3 separate regions of the Homo sapiens genome follow, and all the other regions are linked to region 3. Evidence: promoter capture Hi-C in 16 types of primary human blood cells and fetal thymus (Javierre and others, 2016). All regions are on one chromosome and are shown on one strand. Each heading gives the region's core, a stretch centred on a gene start or on the middle of the fragment in contact. The rest is flanking DNA. Distances are from core to core; before and after follow the strand shown. Region 1 holds the start of LOC124904664 (a long non-coding RNA gene). Region 2 overlaps LINC00663 (long intergenic non-protein coding RNA 663). Region 3 holds the start of LPAR2 (lysophosphatidic acid receptor 2).

The links. Contacts are between HindIII fragments. The CHiCAGO score rates a contact against its expected background, and 5 or more counts as called.
Region 1: a fragment that was not itself captured here is called in contact with the fragment with the promoter of LPAR2 in region 3 in 4 of 17 cell types (total B cells, non-activated CD4 T cells, total CD4 T cells and 1 more); the score reaches 7.0 in total B cells.
Region 2: a fragment that was not itself captured here is called in contact with the fragment with the promoter of LPAR2 in region 3 in 7 of 17 cell types (monocytes, total CD8 T cells, total CD4 T cells and 4 more); the score reaches 7.4 in monocytes.

What each region holds. Positions count from the first base shown.
Region 1 is chr19:19,867,357-19,872,034 of GRCh38, forward strand. The region is part of intron 1 of ZNF253 (zinc finger protein 253); the gene reads left to right. LOC124904664 (a long non-coding RNA gene) reads right to left here and starts at 3,121. Exons shown (of 4, transcript XR_007067169.1): 1 at 1-3,121. It also overlaps the pseudogene BNIP3P10. The HindIII fragment of the contact is 268 bases long and covers 1,490-1,757 here.
Region 2 is chr19:19,769,043-19,773,970 of GRCh38, forward strand. All of the region lies in intron 1 of LINC00663 (long intergenic non-protein coding RNA 663), which reads right to left. Among named protein-coding and RNA genes, the nearest start is that of LINC00663, 4.9 kb to the right of the region's middle. The HindIII fragment of the contact is 452 bases long and covers 2,294-2,745 here.
Region 3 is chr19:19,626,666-19,631,640 of GRCh38, forward strand. LPAR2 (lysophosphatidic acid receptor 2) reads right to left here and starts at 1,555. Exons shown (of 3, transcript NM_001395660.1): 1 at 1,427-1,555; 2 at 1-619. The coding sequence starts at 610. It overlaps GMIP (GEM interacting protein), which reads right to left. Exons shown (of 21, transcript NM_016573.4): 20 at 3,806-3,872; 21 at 2,811-3,671. The coding sequence ends at 3,298. RefSeq lists silencers at 1,306-1,805, 2,176-2,305 and an enhancer at 1,943-2,865. The HindIII fragment of the contact is 41,803 bases long and covers 1-4,975 here.

The DNA.
Region 1 (4,678 bases), core at 374-2,873, 240 kb after region 3:
ATCTTTTATTTTATTTTATTTTTGGAGACAGAGTGTCACTTATTGCCCAGGCTAGAGTGCTGTGGAGTGATGCAGCCTTATTTAGCCTCAACCTCCCTGGCTCAAGCAATTCTCTCCTACCTCATCCTTTCACGTAGCTTGATCTACACGCTGGTGTTACCACGCCTGGCCAATTTTTCTCTTTGTATTTTCTGTGGAGACAGGATTTTGCAATGTTGCCCAGGTTGGTCTTAAACTTCTAAGCTCAGGCAATCCACCTGCCTCAGCCTCCCAGAGTGCTGGGATTACAGGCATGAGCCACCGCATCTGACCATACCGTGTTTTCTTTATCCAGTCTACCACTGATAGGGCCTGTCCATGTCTTTGCTATTGTGAATAGTGCTGCAATGAACATACATATGAATGTATCTTTATAATACAATAATTTATATTTCTTTGGGTATATACCCAATTATGAGGTAGAGTATAAGCATTCCCTTTTCTCTGCAACCTTGCCAGCATCTGTTATTTTTTGACTTTTTAAAAATAGCCATTCTGACTGGTGTGATGTGGTATCTCATTGTGGTTTCTCTTAATTTCTCTAATGATTAGTGATGAGCTTTTTTTTTTTCATATGCTTGCTAGCCACATGTATATGTTCTTTTGAAAAGCATCTATTCATGTTTTTTTGGCCTATTTTTTAATGAGATTTTTTTTTTCTTGTAAACTTGTTTAAGTTCTTAATAAATTCTGGATATTAGACTTTTGTCAGAGGCAAAGTTTGCAAATTTTTTTTATTCTGTAGGTTGTCTGTTTACTCTGTTAATAGTTTCCTTTGCTGTGAAGAAGCTCTTTAGTTCAAATAGGTCCCATTGTCAATTTTTGCTTTTGTTGCAATTGCTTTTGGTAGCTTCATCATGAAGTGTTTGCCAGTTTCTGTGTCTAGAATGGTACTTCCTAGGTTATCTTGCAAGGTTTCTTACAATTTTAAGTTTTTCATTTAAGTCTTTAATTAATCTTGAGTTGATTTTGTATATTGTGTAATGAAGGGGTCCACTTTCAGTCTTCTACATAGTGCTAGCTAGTTATTCCAGCACCATTTATTAAATGGAGAATTCTTTCCACATTTCTCTTATCAGCTTTGCCAAAAATCTGATGATGGTAGGAGGGTGGCATTATTTCTGGGCTCTCTATTCTGTTGCATTGGTCTTGTGCACTCATGAACTTTTTTTTATAATATCTTTCTCTCTTCTGCTTTTTCCCCCATAAGCATTTTTTCAAGTGCATACAGTGTGTAAAATTCTGATGTCCAAGAGTTCAAAAACTCTTTAAAAAGTTCCAAAAAAGGGGATTGGGGGGCTAGGGGAGGGACAGCATTAGGAGAAATACCTAGTGTAAATAATGGTTTGATGGGTGCAGCAAACCTTCATGGCACGTGTATACCTATGTAACAAACCTGCACGTTATGCACATGTACCCCAGAACTTTAAAGTATAATAAATAAATAAAAAGCTTAAAAAATATTTTGATATTCTCTCTTTTCTTAAGGAATTTAGGTTATATGTAGATGCTTTTCTCTGCTTTTTTTGAAATACATGTAAATCATATGAACAGCTAAATAAACCCTTTGTCATTTTCTCGGGTCCAGATTATCTTTATGTAGTACTTCAGAATTATTGCTTTATTTTTGCTTCTGAAAAGTTTATTTTTTTCATTTTTAGTCCTTTAAATTAGACACAGATTTGTTTAGATAAAAGCTCATTTTAAGAGCACACAGAAGCTTAGCAGAAAGATAGGATTAAATTTAGCAATGCAGAATGCTAAAGACTAAAAGGTATTAAGTTTCTTTTACAGAAACCTGATTATCCAAGGTAATTATCCAATATTTGCAGGCTGAAGTACTTATACTGCAAAAGCAAGAACAGTGCATAAACAGTGGAGTCTGTAGTTGTATCTTGCTTTCTATTTATTACTTCAGAACAATTAGGATAGTTATGTGTAGGGTTTGTAGGCAAACTGCATTAATATAAATTAAACATTTTTTTTTTCGAGGTGTTTTGCTCTTGTTGTCCAGGATGGTGTGCAATGGTTTGATCTCGGCTCAGGCAAACTCTGCCTCCCAGGTTCAAGCAATTTTCCTGTCTCAGCTCCCAGTAGCTGGGATTACAGGCATGCACCACCAGGCCCAGCTCATTTTGTATTTTTAATAGAGATGCGGTTTTTCCATGTTGATCAGGCTGGTCTTGAACTCCTGACCTCAGGTGATCTGCCTGCCTCAGCCTCCCGAAGTGATGGGATTACAGGCATGAGCCACCATGCCTGGCCTTTTTTTTTTTTTTTTTTTTTTTTTTTAAAAAACAGTCTTACTCTGTTGCCCAGGCTGGAGTGCAGTGGTGTAATCTTGGCTCACTGCAATCACTGCCTTCTGGTTTCAAGTAATTCTCCTGCCTCAGCCTCCCGAGTGGCTGGGAATACAGGCATGCACCACCATGTCCGGCTACTTTTTTGTATTTTTAGTAGAGACAGGATTTCACCATGTTGGTCAGACTGGTCTCGAACTCCTGACCTCAGGTGATGCACCTGCTTCAGCCTCCAAAAGTGCTGGTATTACCGGTGTGAGCCAAAAACAATATTTTCTACAATAGTATGAACATAAAGCCACAATACTTACTTTGAATGATTCACTTAAATGGTTATTTTAATATTGTTATTTATACTTTTGAAATATAAAGTGTTTTAACTGAAGTATAGTTGCAGTTTTTAAAAATACTACATACATTGCCGAGTGCAGTGGCTCACACCTGTAATTCCAACACTTTGAGAGGCTGAGGCAGGTTAATTACCTGAGGTCAGGAGTTCGACACCAGCCTGACATGGTGTAACCCCATCTCTACTAAAAATAAAAAATTAGCTGGGTGTGGTGGCACGCGCCTGTAATCCCAGCTACTTGGCAGGCTGAGGCAGGAGAATCGCTTGTTCCTGGGAGGCAGAAGTTGCAGTGAGCTGAGATTGCACCATTTCACTCCAGCCTGGGTGACAGAATGAGATTGTGTCTCAAAAAAAAAAAAAAAAGCTACATATATTATGACCTGTTCATTAAAATTATTCATAGTTAGATATTTATATCTAATGTCCAAAGAAAATTTACTACCAAATTGTTAGAGTAGATATTAGTCTGACATGTTTATTACTTTACTCAATAGGAATAATTATGAGTAAACACAATTTTATTATCTTTTATTTCACTAAGTTGGAATGCTGCTATTACAGGAAAAATAAAGACAGGTGATGTGGCCACCCAAACACCATAATAGCTATTCAGTTAGCTGTGTTGCAAGTTGTAACATATTCCACTATATGAACACAGTCAAATTCTATTTCTTCATCTTAAAGTGTTGTTGGAAGTTGTCAGATGTATTTCAATATAGAACCCCCATTCAGTGGCTAGGAGATGAGAGAGCAGCAGAGATGGAAAAGAAACTTTATAAAATTCTTCTGAAAATCTGCCCTCTTTCTTCGTAATGCTCATGTTTCTCATGATGAGAGCAGCTGTGTACTTTGGGTGGTTAGAGAGAAATTGCTTTTAGGGGAACATTTTCTGGCTCATTTGATCAATCTGATATCTAACCTGAGCTTTTTTAAAAGATCTTTTTTACATTTTTCTCTCAAAATAATCTGGCTCAGATGGAGATCTGTTTTTCTCTCCAATGCTTTGGATGTCTGTTTCAGAAGCCCTATTACTATCCTATGGTGTCCAAATGAGGTGGACTCTCACAGTGAGAACTTTTGGAGCTATCTCTATCTGGACTCATGCTGGAAATTCAGCAGTATTTTTTCCTTGTCACCATTACAAGTAGAAACTGAGGCTGAAACACTGCTCACATTCCCATGATTGTGAAGGTGCAATTCTACCCATGAGGCCTGCAGGCTCTCCTCCTGCAGCTCAGGCCTCACTCTGATGTGACACTGGAGTGCTGCTGTGGCAAATGGGGTTCATATAAAATGTGAGCTGTGCTCTGAACTGTGCCTCAGTGGCAGATGGTAGAGGTCAAGAGAGGAAGGACACTAGCATTCAGGAGAAAGCAAGCAGGAGTGCTGTAGCCCAGTGCCAGGGAGTACAGAGCCACTGCTTTAAAATGTAAATAGCCAAAAAGATAGAATGCTACTCAGCCATTTTTGTAGCAGAGTGAAATCCTGCCTTCAGCAGACACCTGGCTTCAAGCTGCTAAACTACATCCTGTTATGAAGATGTGAAAAGTTTGTCATTGAATATAAGCAATTAACATACACAGATGGCCTCTTCAATCTCCAGGTGAATTTAGGATGAACTATGTATGACATGGTGCTGGAAATTCTTCTAATTGTAGACTAATTATGGTGACCATCTTTCTGTCTTTGGAGCCTCTTAAGCAGATTGACGATGATGCATATCACATTCAAGTTCAATTGTGTAATAAAACCATTTTCTTTCTTTTGTCTTATTGTGAAGATTTTCTGGGGCTGGAGGAAATTTTTCTTTTAATTATTGTTTCCAAACACTGTCTAGAATTACCAGACATGATACAAACACATAAAGTGCCATCCAAAATTTACTCTAGAGGGGACTTTCCCTCTCTGGCTTCCAGTCAGCTCAGAGTTGTGCAGCAAAGTGCATGCTGTCCCCTAAATATGCAGGCAGAATTGTGTCTCTGCCTTTTTG
Region 2 (4,928 bases), core at 1,270-3,769, 140 kb after region 3:
AAATAATCAATTAGAGACAAAGATTGAAAACATTGATTTTTTTTTTTTTTTTGAGACGGAATCTCCTCTGTCGCCCAGGCTGGAGTGCAGTGGCGAGATCTTGGCTTACTGCAAGCTCCGCCTCCCAGGTTCACGCCATTCTCCTGCCTCAGCCTCCCGAGTAGCTGGCACTACAGGTGCCCGCCACCACGCCCGGCTATTTTTTATGTATTTTTAGTAGAGACGGGGTTTCACCGTGTTAGCCAGGATGGTCTCGATCTTCTGACTTCGTGATCCGCACGCCTCAGCCTCCCAAAGTGCTGGGATTACAGGCGTGAGCCACTGTTCCCGGCCTGACAACACTGATTAATAAATATGACCATGCATATTCTCTTTAGAAGAAACTCACTTCCAATATAAAAAGGTAAATTTAGAATAAGCCCTCTCCCTCTCCCCCTCCCCCTCCCTCTCCCCTTTGCACGGTCCTCGTCTCCCCTTTGCACAGTCTCCCTCTGATGCGGAGCCGAGGCTGGACGGTACTGCCGCCATCTCGGCTCACTGCAGCCTCCCTGCCTGATTCTCCTGCCTCAGCCTGCCGAGTGCCTGCGATTGCAGGCGCGCGCCGCCACACCTGATGGTTTTCGTATTTTTTGGTGGAGACGGGGTTTCGCCGTGTTGGCCGGGCTGGTCTCCAGCTCCTGACTGCGAGTGGTCTGCCACCCTCGGCCTCCCGAGGTGCCGGGATTGCAGACGGGGTCTCGCTCACTCAGTGCTCAATGTTGCCCAGGCTGGAGTGCAGTGGCGTGATCTCGGATCGCTACAACCTCCACCTCCCAACTGCCTGCCTTGGCCTCCCAAAGTGCCGAGATTGCAGCCTCTGCCCGGCCGCCACCCCGTCTAGGAAGTGAGGAGCGTCTCTGCCTGGCCGCCCATCGTCTGGGATGTGAGGAGCCCCTCTGCCCGGCCGCCCAGTCTGGGAAGTGAGGAGTGCCTCTTCCCGGCCATCATCCCGTCTAGGAAGTGAGGAGCGTCTCTGTCTGGCCGCCCATCATCTGGGATGTGGGGAGCACCTCTGCCCTGCCGCCCCATCTGAGATGTGAAGAGTGCCTCTGCCCGGCCGCGACCCCGTCTGGGAACTGAGGAGTGTCTCTGCCCCGCCGCCACCCCATCTGGGAGGTGAGGAGCGTCCCTGCCCGGCCGCCCCGTCTGAGAAGTGAGGAGCCCCTCCGCCCGGCAGCCGCCCCATCTGGGAAGTGGGGGGCAGCTCCCGTCCGGCCAGCCGCCCCGTCCGGGAGGTGTACCCAACAGCTCATTGAGAACGGGCCATGATGACAATGGCGGTTTTGTCGAATAGAAAAGGGGGAAATGTGGGGAAAAGAAAGAGAGATCAGATTGTTATTGTGTTTGTGTAGAAAGAAGTAGACATAGGAGACTCCATTTTGTTCTGTACTAGGAAAAATTCTTCTGCCTTGGGATGCTGTTAATCTATAACCTTACCCCCAACCCCGTGCTCTCTGAAACAGGTGCTGTGTCCACTAAGGGTTAAATGGATTAAGGGCGGTGCAAGTTGTGCTTTGTTAAACAGATGCTTGAAGGCAGCATGCTCTAAGAATCATCACCACTCCCTAATCTCAACTACCCAGGGACACAAACACTGTGGAAGGCGGCAGGGCCCTCTGCCTAGGAAAACCAGAGACCTTTGTTCACTTGTTTATCTGCTGACCTTCCCTCCACTATTGTCCTATGACCCTGCCAAATCCCCCTCTCCGAGAAACACTCAAGAATGATCAATAAATACTAAAAAAAAAAAAAAAAAAAAAAAAAAAAAGCAGAATAAAATCAGAAAAAAAAAGGTAAATTTAAAGTATAAGAAGCTGGGCAAGGCGTGGTGGCTCACTCACGCCTGTAATCCCAGCACTTTGGGAGGCTGGGGTGGGCGAATCACTTGAGGTCAGGAGTTCAAGACCAGCCTGGCCAACATAGTGAAACCCTGGCTCTACTAAAAATACAAAAATTAGCCAGGTGTGGTGGCTGGTGCCTATAATCCCAGCTACTTGGGAGGCTGAGGCAGGAGAATCGCTTGAACTGGGGAGGCAGAAGTTGCAGTGAGCCGAGATCACGCCACTGTACTCCAGCCTGGGCAACAGAGTGAGACTCCATATCAAAAATAAATTTAAAATAAATAAATAAAGTATAAGAAGCTGGAAAAAGATACAAGTAATCAAGGAAAGCATGAGTAGTTACAATAATATCGGATAAAGTAGATTTCAGAGAAAAAAATTGAGACATGGAGAGAAATTACATAATGATAAAAAGCTTAATCCACCCAGAAGACCCAGCAGTCCTAAATGTGTAGGCATAAATCAACAGACATGAAAAATGTGAAACAAAAACTGGAACAAACAGAGGAGAAACAGACAATAAGACAAATACACAATTATCGTTGGAGATATTGACATTTTTCTCTAAACAATAGAACAGAGAAAATTTCAGCAGCAAATCTAAAAAAAAGACAACAGTTCAACACCATCATTCATCAACAGGATCTGGTTGACATTTGTAGAGTAATTTAATCAACAGCAGCAGCATATGCATTCTCTTCAAGGGCTCATGGAACATAAAGTAAGATAGACCATCTCCTAGGCCATGAAACAAACTTCAACAAATTTTAAAAATCAGATTACACGGAGTGTGTTCTCGGATCATAATGGAGTCAGACTAGAAATCAATAATGTGAAGACAATGCAAACATCTCCAACTCTTGCAAGCTTGAAGGGGAAGTCCCTGGGAAAACAAAAAATACATTGACCACAAAGATGATGAAAAGACAATGGATCAAAATTTGTAAGACACAACTAAAGCAGTGTACTGAAGAAACTGATGGCACTAAACTCATATATTAGAAAAGGCTGGTCGGGCGCGGTGGTTCAAGCCTGTAATCCCAGCACTTTGGGAGGCCGAGGCCAGGAGATCCAGACTATCCTGGCTAACACGGTGAAACCCGGTCTCTACTAAAAATACAAAAAAAAAAAAAAAAAAAAAAAAAAAATTAGCCGGGCGTGGCAGCAGGTGCCTGTAGTCCCAGGCTGAGGCAGGAGAATGGCATGAACCCAGGAGGCGGAGCTTGCAGTAAGCCGAGATGGCGCCACTGCACCCCAGCCTGGGCGACAGAGCAAGACTGTCTCAAAAAAAAAGAAGAAAAAAAAGAAAAAAACTAAGTCTCCAGATAATCTAATTTTCCACATCGATAACCTGGGAAAAGGTCAAACTTAATAAACTAAACCCAAACAAAAGAAGTATTAAGAAAGAAATAATAAAGATAGGAAGAGAAATAAAGTTGAGACTCAGAAAGTAATAGAGAAAAACCAATAAAACAGACAGCTGATTTTTTTTGAAAAGATCAATTAAATAGACAAACCTCAAGCAAGACTAAGTGGGGGAAAGGACAAGACACAAATTACCCTGTCAGGAATGAAACAAGGGATATCGGCCAGGCGCGGTGGCTCACGCCTGTAATCCTAGTACTTTGGGAGGCTGAGTCAGGTGGATCACAAGGTCAGGAGTTCGAGACCAGCCTGGCCAATATGGTGAAACCCTGTCTCTACTAAAAATACAAAAAATAAAAATTAGCTGGGCGTGGTGGTGGGTGCCTGTAGTCCCAGCTACTCGGGAGGCTGACGCAGGAGAATTGCTTGAACCCAGGAGGTGGAGATTACAGTGAGCCAAGGTCGGGCCACTGCACTCCAGTCTGGCTACAAAGCGAGACTCCATCTCAAAAAAAAAAAAAAAAAAAAAGAAACAAAGGATATCATTACATACCCTGCAGACATAAAAAGAATAATAAAGTGTATTAGTCGTCTAGGGCTGCCATAAGAAAATACCAGAGTCTGGGTGAGTTAAAATAAATCATCTCACAGTTCTGGAGGCTGGAAGTCTAAGATCAAGGTCCCAGGACAGCTGGTTTCTCCTGAGCCCTCTGCGTATGGCGCCACCTTCCTCTGTATCCTCACATGGCCCTTTTCTTTTTTTCTTTTCTTTTCTTTTTTTTTTGAGATGGAGTCTCACTCTGTCACCGAGGCTGGAGTGCAGTGGCACGATCTCGGCTCACTGCGACCTCCGCCCCCCAAGTTCAAGCGATTCTCCTGCCTCAGCCTCCTGAGTAATTGGGATTACAGGCGCCTGCCACCGCGCCCGGCTAATTTTTTTGTATTTTTAGTAGAGACGGGGTTTCACCATCTTGGCCAGGCTGGTCTTAAACTCCTGACCTCGTGATCCACCCGCCTCAGCCTCCCAAAGTGCTGGGATTACAGCCGTGAGCCACCGCACCCGGCAGGGCTTTTTCTTCTAATTGGCCCGTTCTAGTGTTTCTCTGTCCCTTCTCCTTTATTTTATTTATTTATTCATTTATTTATTTATTGAGACAGAGTCTCGCTCTATCTCCCAGGCTGGAGTGCAGTGGCACAATCTCGGCTCACTGCAACCTCCGCCTCCTGGGTTCAAGTGATTCTCTTGCCTTAGTGACCTGAATACAGGTGTGGGATTACAGGTGTGCGCCACCATGCCCAGCTAATGTTTTATTTTTAGTAGAGCCAGGGTTTTGCCATGTTGGCCAGGCTGGTCTCAAACTCCTGGCCTCAAGTGATCCGCCTGCCTTGGCCTCCCAAAGTGCTGCAATTACAGGCGTGAGCCACAGTGCCTGGCCTCTATCTCTTCTTATCATGATGATAGTCATACTGGATTATGGCCTCACTCTGATGACCTCATTTAACCTCAATTACCTCTTAAAAATCTCCCTCTCCATACCCAGTCCCAATGAGGGTTGGGACTTCAATATGAATAACTCTATACACATAAAATTTAACAGCTTAGATGAAATGATTTAATCACTCAAAACATAAATTATTATAATTACCCAATTAAAAAACTGATATTTTTGAATTGCCCTACAC
Region 3 (4,975 bases), core at 305-2,804:
CAGCCACCATGAGCAGGAAGACAAGCAGGCTCGACAGAGCCCAGACGGCCAAATAGGAGCGGCTGAGCAGGGGTGCCATGCGTGAGCAGCGGTCCAGGGCACAGAGGCAGTGCCAGGAGTGGGCAGGCAGCAGCCCCAGGCCCAGGGCAGCCACCCACACGCCCACAATGAGCATGACCACGCGGCCACGGGGCAGGCGGCTGTGCAGCTGCACGGCCATCACACTGCGGTGCCGCTCCACGGCGATGGCCAGCAGTGTGGCCACCGACGCAGTGAGGCTTGTGTCCAGCAAGCCCTGCCGCAGGAACCAGCCCTCAAGTGAAAGTCGGGCTGTGCGGGGACCAGTGTGGAACATGAGGAAGAGGTAGGCCACGCCCGCGAAGAGGTCAGCCGCGGCCAGATTGCCGAGCAGGTAGTAGATGGGCTGGTGGAAGCGGCGGTTGGAGGCGATGGCTGCTATGACCAGCAGATTGGTCAGCAGCACCAGCACGCTGACGGTCAGCCCCAGTGCCACCACGACCACATCCTTGGGCCGCCAGTGGGAGCTGAGCTCTTTGCCACTGTTGTTATAGAAGAAGCCGATGGTCTCGTTGTAGTAGCACTGGCCCATGATGACCATCTGGGGACACAAGAGATCAGTGCATGTGGCACTTCTTGGAAGGACACAGGGAGGGGCGGCAGCTGCAGAGGAGGGTCAGCGCAGGAAGGACAAGGGTCTCAAATTCAGATACCTCGAAGCAAAGTGGCAGTGGTGAGGACTACGGTGGCCTGGAAAAAGCAAGCTCCATGGGGCTGGGGTGGAGGTGGAGGAGCAGCTGTTTCTTACCTACTAATAAGACCTGTGTGCAAGACATCACCCAAGTCAATAGGTTTTTGAACCAGAAGTGAAACAAAACCCATCTATGGTCGAATCCCAGCCCACCTGCCGCCAATGTGTGACCCGGTTTGGGTTGTGGGGAGAGGAGGGTTAGGGAAAGACAAAGGGGTGTGAGCTGCGGGAAGAGATGAGGGAGGATCACTTTGGTGCCGGAGTCAGTGTAGGGAGCAGAGACCCGGGAGCGTGTGCACACAAGGGTGAGGTCACTTGCTAGAACCCTGCGAGGGGGCGGTGCCGAGGCGTGGAGGTGATCGGAGTGGACAGAGAGGCGGCCCCAGAAGTTAGTCGGCGGGATTTGGGCGCGAGTGCTTCCCAAGCGGGCGGGGCAATAGGCTGTTCCGGGTGGGACGGAGGACACTGGCGGTCTCCGGGACAAAGACAGCGGTTGGGGAAGGGATGGATGGCCGGGCCTCCAGGCGTCTCCAGACTGGGGAAGGGGTAGGGGGTTAAGGGATCAGAGGGCGGCGTCCTGGCCCCGCAGGCACGTGCCGCGCCCTTCCCCCGGGCCCAGGCCCGCACCCGCCCGCCTCCCGTCCGTGCAGGCCTCACCTGGGCCTCCAGTCACGCCGCAGACAAGGCGGGCTCGCGGGGGTTCGGGGCGGGCTCGAGGCCCATGGCCCGGCGACTGCGGCGGGAGCGGTAGAGCGTCCGGGTGCGCCCTGTGCGGGTTGCTGAGAGGGCGCGGGAGGCGGGGTCTCCCCGGCGCCCCGCCCCCACCACCTGGGGGAGCCCTGCCCCGCCCCGCCACCTGGGGGAGCCCCGCCTCCACGGCCGCGTCGGGGGCGGTGTCGCCCGGAACCGCAGCCCCCCTGTTTCCTCCCCGCCTCGCGGCCCCTCAGTCGCCCCTATTTCCGGCGCGGGACCCCCACCCCGGTACCTGCACACCTCATGCGCCCGCAGTTTCGAGCCTGCGGGGCTGAGTCACTCGGCGACCCGAAAATTCCCGCCGTGACCCCGCGCTGCCCGGGCGGAGCTCCAGGTGGTCTTGGGTCCGCGCCCCCGCTCCGGACCCCCAACCCTCCCAGCCCCACCCCGCTCTCTTCTTCGTGTCCAATCGGCCGCCGAGTTACAAGCCACTCCCTGATCCGACTTGGCTCCCACCGCCCGGACCCCCGCCCAGCTTCGGCTTTGCCAGCTCGCAGTATCAGCGAGCCGCGGCCTCCTGTGCGAGGCCCACCTCTGCGGCCCCAGCTGATCATCGGGCGCACGCTAGGGTTTTGCAATCCCGCCCCCGTACCCCTCACCCTGGGACAGCGCTGCCCCCTGCAAAGCCCGGCCCTGCCCTGCCCTGCCCTGTGGCTTCCTCCCTCGGCCTCCCTGCGGCGGCCCCGGGCTCCCACGGTCCGGAGCACACAGCCCCATTGTCCCGGTTATCGGTACTTTGTTATACTGTATTTGATTATGCAGGACCGGATCGGGGACGCAGAGCTCCGGGAGGGCCGGGCTGGCGTGACTCAGCCGGGTGCTGCGACCCAGCTCCAACTGCCTTTACGTAGGTGCTGCAGGGTGTTTGATGATGCAAGAAGGAGGCCTTGAGGCCGGGCGCAGTGGCTCACGCCTGTAATCCCTGCATTTTGGGAGGCCGATGCGGGACGATCACGAGATCAGGAGATCGAGACCATCCTGGCCAACATGCTGAAACCCCGTCTCTACTAAAAATACAAAAAAATTAGCCGGGCATGGTGGCAGGCGCCTGTAGTCCCAGCTACTCGGGAGGCTGAGGCAGGAGAATCGCTTGAACCCGGGAGGTGGAGGTTGCAGTGAGCGGAGATCGTGCCACTGCACTCCAACCTGGAGACAGAGCAAAACTCCGTCTCAAAAAAAAAAAAAAAAAAAAAAAAAAAAGAGGCCTTGATTCCCCTAATCTGTAAAATGGGGGCAAGGAGTGCTACCCATGCTGGCCTCTCCCCTAGCAGAGATGCACCCAAGGGCATATAGGACACAGTTTATTAGAGGCCATCAGACCTCAGGCACCACCAGCATGTGGAGTCTGAGCTGCCCACCTCCTCCAGGAAGGTCACTTCGAGTCCGTGAAGGAGGCAGGCAGGTGTGGGGGAGTGACCACAACCAAAGTAGCAAAAGCACCCCTGTCCCAGGTGTCAGAGACTAGGGTGGACCCCAAGGATCTCATAACCTGCACTGACCCTGAGTATTGACCCTGAGTGACCTCTGAGCCCGAGTGGCCCTGATGCTTGGCAGTGACCTGTGTCTAGTGGGGGGACTCTGGGACATTATCCCCAAAAGGGTTTTAGGCCTCCCCTAGGTCATGTATTAAATAGTTTTTCCTTATAGGAACCCTCTGGACCTCTCCCAGCATTGAACTCCTGGCGGGGTGTTTGGCCACTAGGTGGTGGGAGGTAGGGATATATGGGTCCGTCTTCACAATCTGGGCCTCTTCCTTATTTAAGGTGCCAGGGTGGTCAGAGATGGTCCTCGGCTTCCTCAGGCTGGACGTCCGGGCAGCAGGTGGCCCTGGGCACAGCCTCGCTGTCCAATTTCGAGAGTAGCCGGGCTGTCTCCTGGGTAATCTCAAAATGCTTGGGCAGCGGGGTGCGGCGCAGGGGGCTGCCCTCAGGGGAGGCAGCTGCAGGGCTGGGCCCCCGCCCCCGCAAACTCCCTCTGGGCACTGATGTGATGGGGGTCTCCTCGCACAGCTTGGAAGCCACCAGGGCCAGACTGGACAGCTGGTGGGTTACAGGCCTCACACCGCCCCGGGGATACTTCACTGGCTGGCGGCTGAAGTGGCCACGAGACTGTGTCCCCAGGAGTGAGTCCTCTGGGCCTTGGCTGGACACTGTGTACGGGGTGGGTGGTCAGTGCAGAGCACCTCCAAGTTCTCTGTATATCCCCCCAGGAGTCATCTTTTAGCAAGCCACCCTGGGGCCAGGGCACCCCCAGAACTCCTGAGCCTCTCTCTAACATACTCACCTTCCCCTCCCCCATCTTTGGTGTCTTCAGCCACGTCCTCTCTCTGGTCACTCTGTGGAGTTGGAATCTGCAGGGAGAAACCCAAGAATGAGACCCCAACACTAAAATCCCAGTTCTTTGAGATTCCTGGAGAGCCAAGGGCTTGTTCCTGGACATGCAAAAGGAATAGCCAGTGCAAAGGCCCTGAGGTAGGAGCATGCCTGGTATGTTAGGACGCAGCCCCACCCTGTAATGAATGAGGGAAAGGTGGTAGGAAGTGAGACCAAAGAGGAGTGGGCCCAGGTGGCTCTGCCAGCCACCCCTGACTTTGCACCTACTCTGCACTGGGTGTGGACTACCATTGAACTCCTCCTATGCACAGGGCATGGACCACCACTGACTGTGCACCTGTCATCCTTTGCAGTTTTGGTGTTTGGGGATAGACGATGCCCTTATAAGTGTACTGCTTGGCCAGGCATGGTGGTGCATGCCTGTAATCCCAGCACTTTGGGAGGCTGAGGTTGGTGGATTATCTGAGGTCAGGAGTTCGGGACCAGCCTGGCCAACATGGTGAAACTCCGTCTCTACTAGAAATACAAAATTTAGCCGGGCGTGGTGGTGCATGCCTGTAATCCCAGCTACTAGGGAGGCTGAGGCAGGAGAATCGCTTGGACCTGGGAGGTGGAGATTGCAGTGAGCTCAGATCATGCCCCTGCACTCCAGTCTGGGTGACAGAATGAGACTCCGTCTCAAAAATAATAATAAGTGTACTGCTTGCCCTTCCAGCATAGAGCAGTGTCATTCATTGAGTCTGGACCGTGGGCTCCATGAGGGTGGGAAAATCCTTGTTTAGCAAATGGCCAGCCCAGGGAGTGGCTCAGCCCTCTCCACATTAGGACCAGGTGGTGCCTCTGAACTACTATCCTGGGCTGCTCTCTGCAACCTTACCAACTTTACTGTTCCATCCTTAGCTAAATGGTTGGCAGTGTCTACACATCAGACACTGTCCCGAGCACTTTATGAGGCATTCCAGCTCTCAGAGACCCACAGTTCACCAGCAGCCGCTTCCCAGCTCTGGGCTGCTGCAGGAGAGATCCTTGCTCTCAGGAATGGCAGATGCAGCAAGATACCAGCAGCACAGGCCTTGGGCATGGACTGTTCTAGCAATCCGGAGCAGCGGGTGCTGCTATC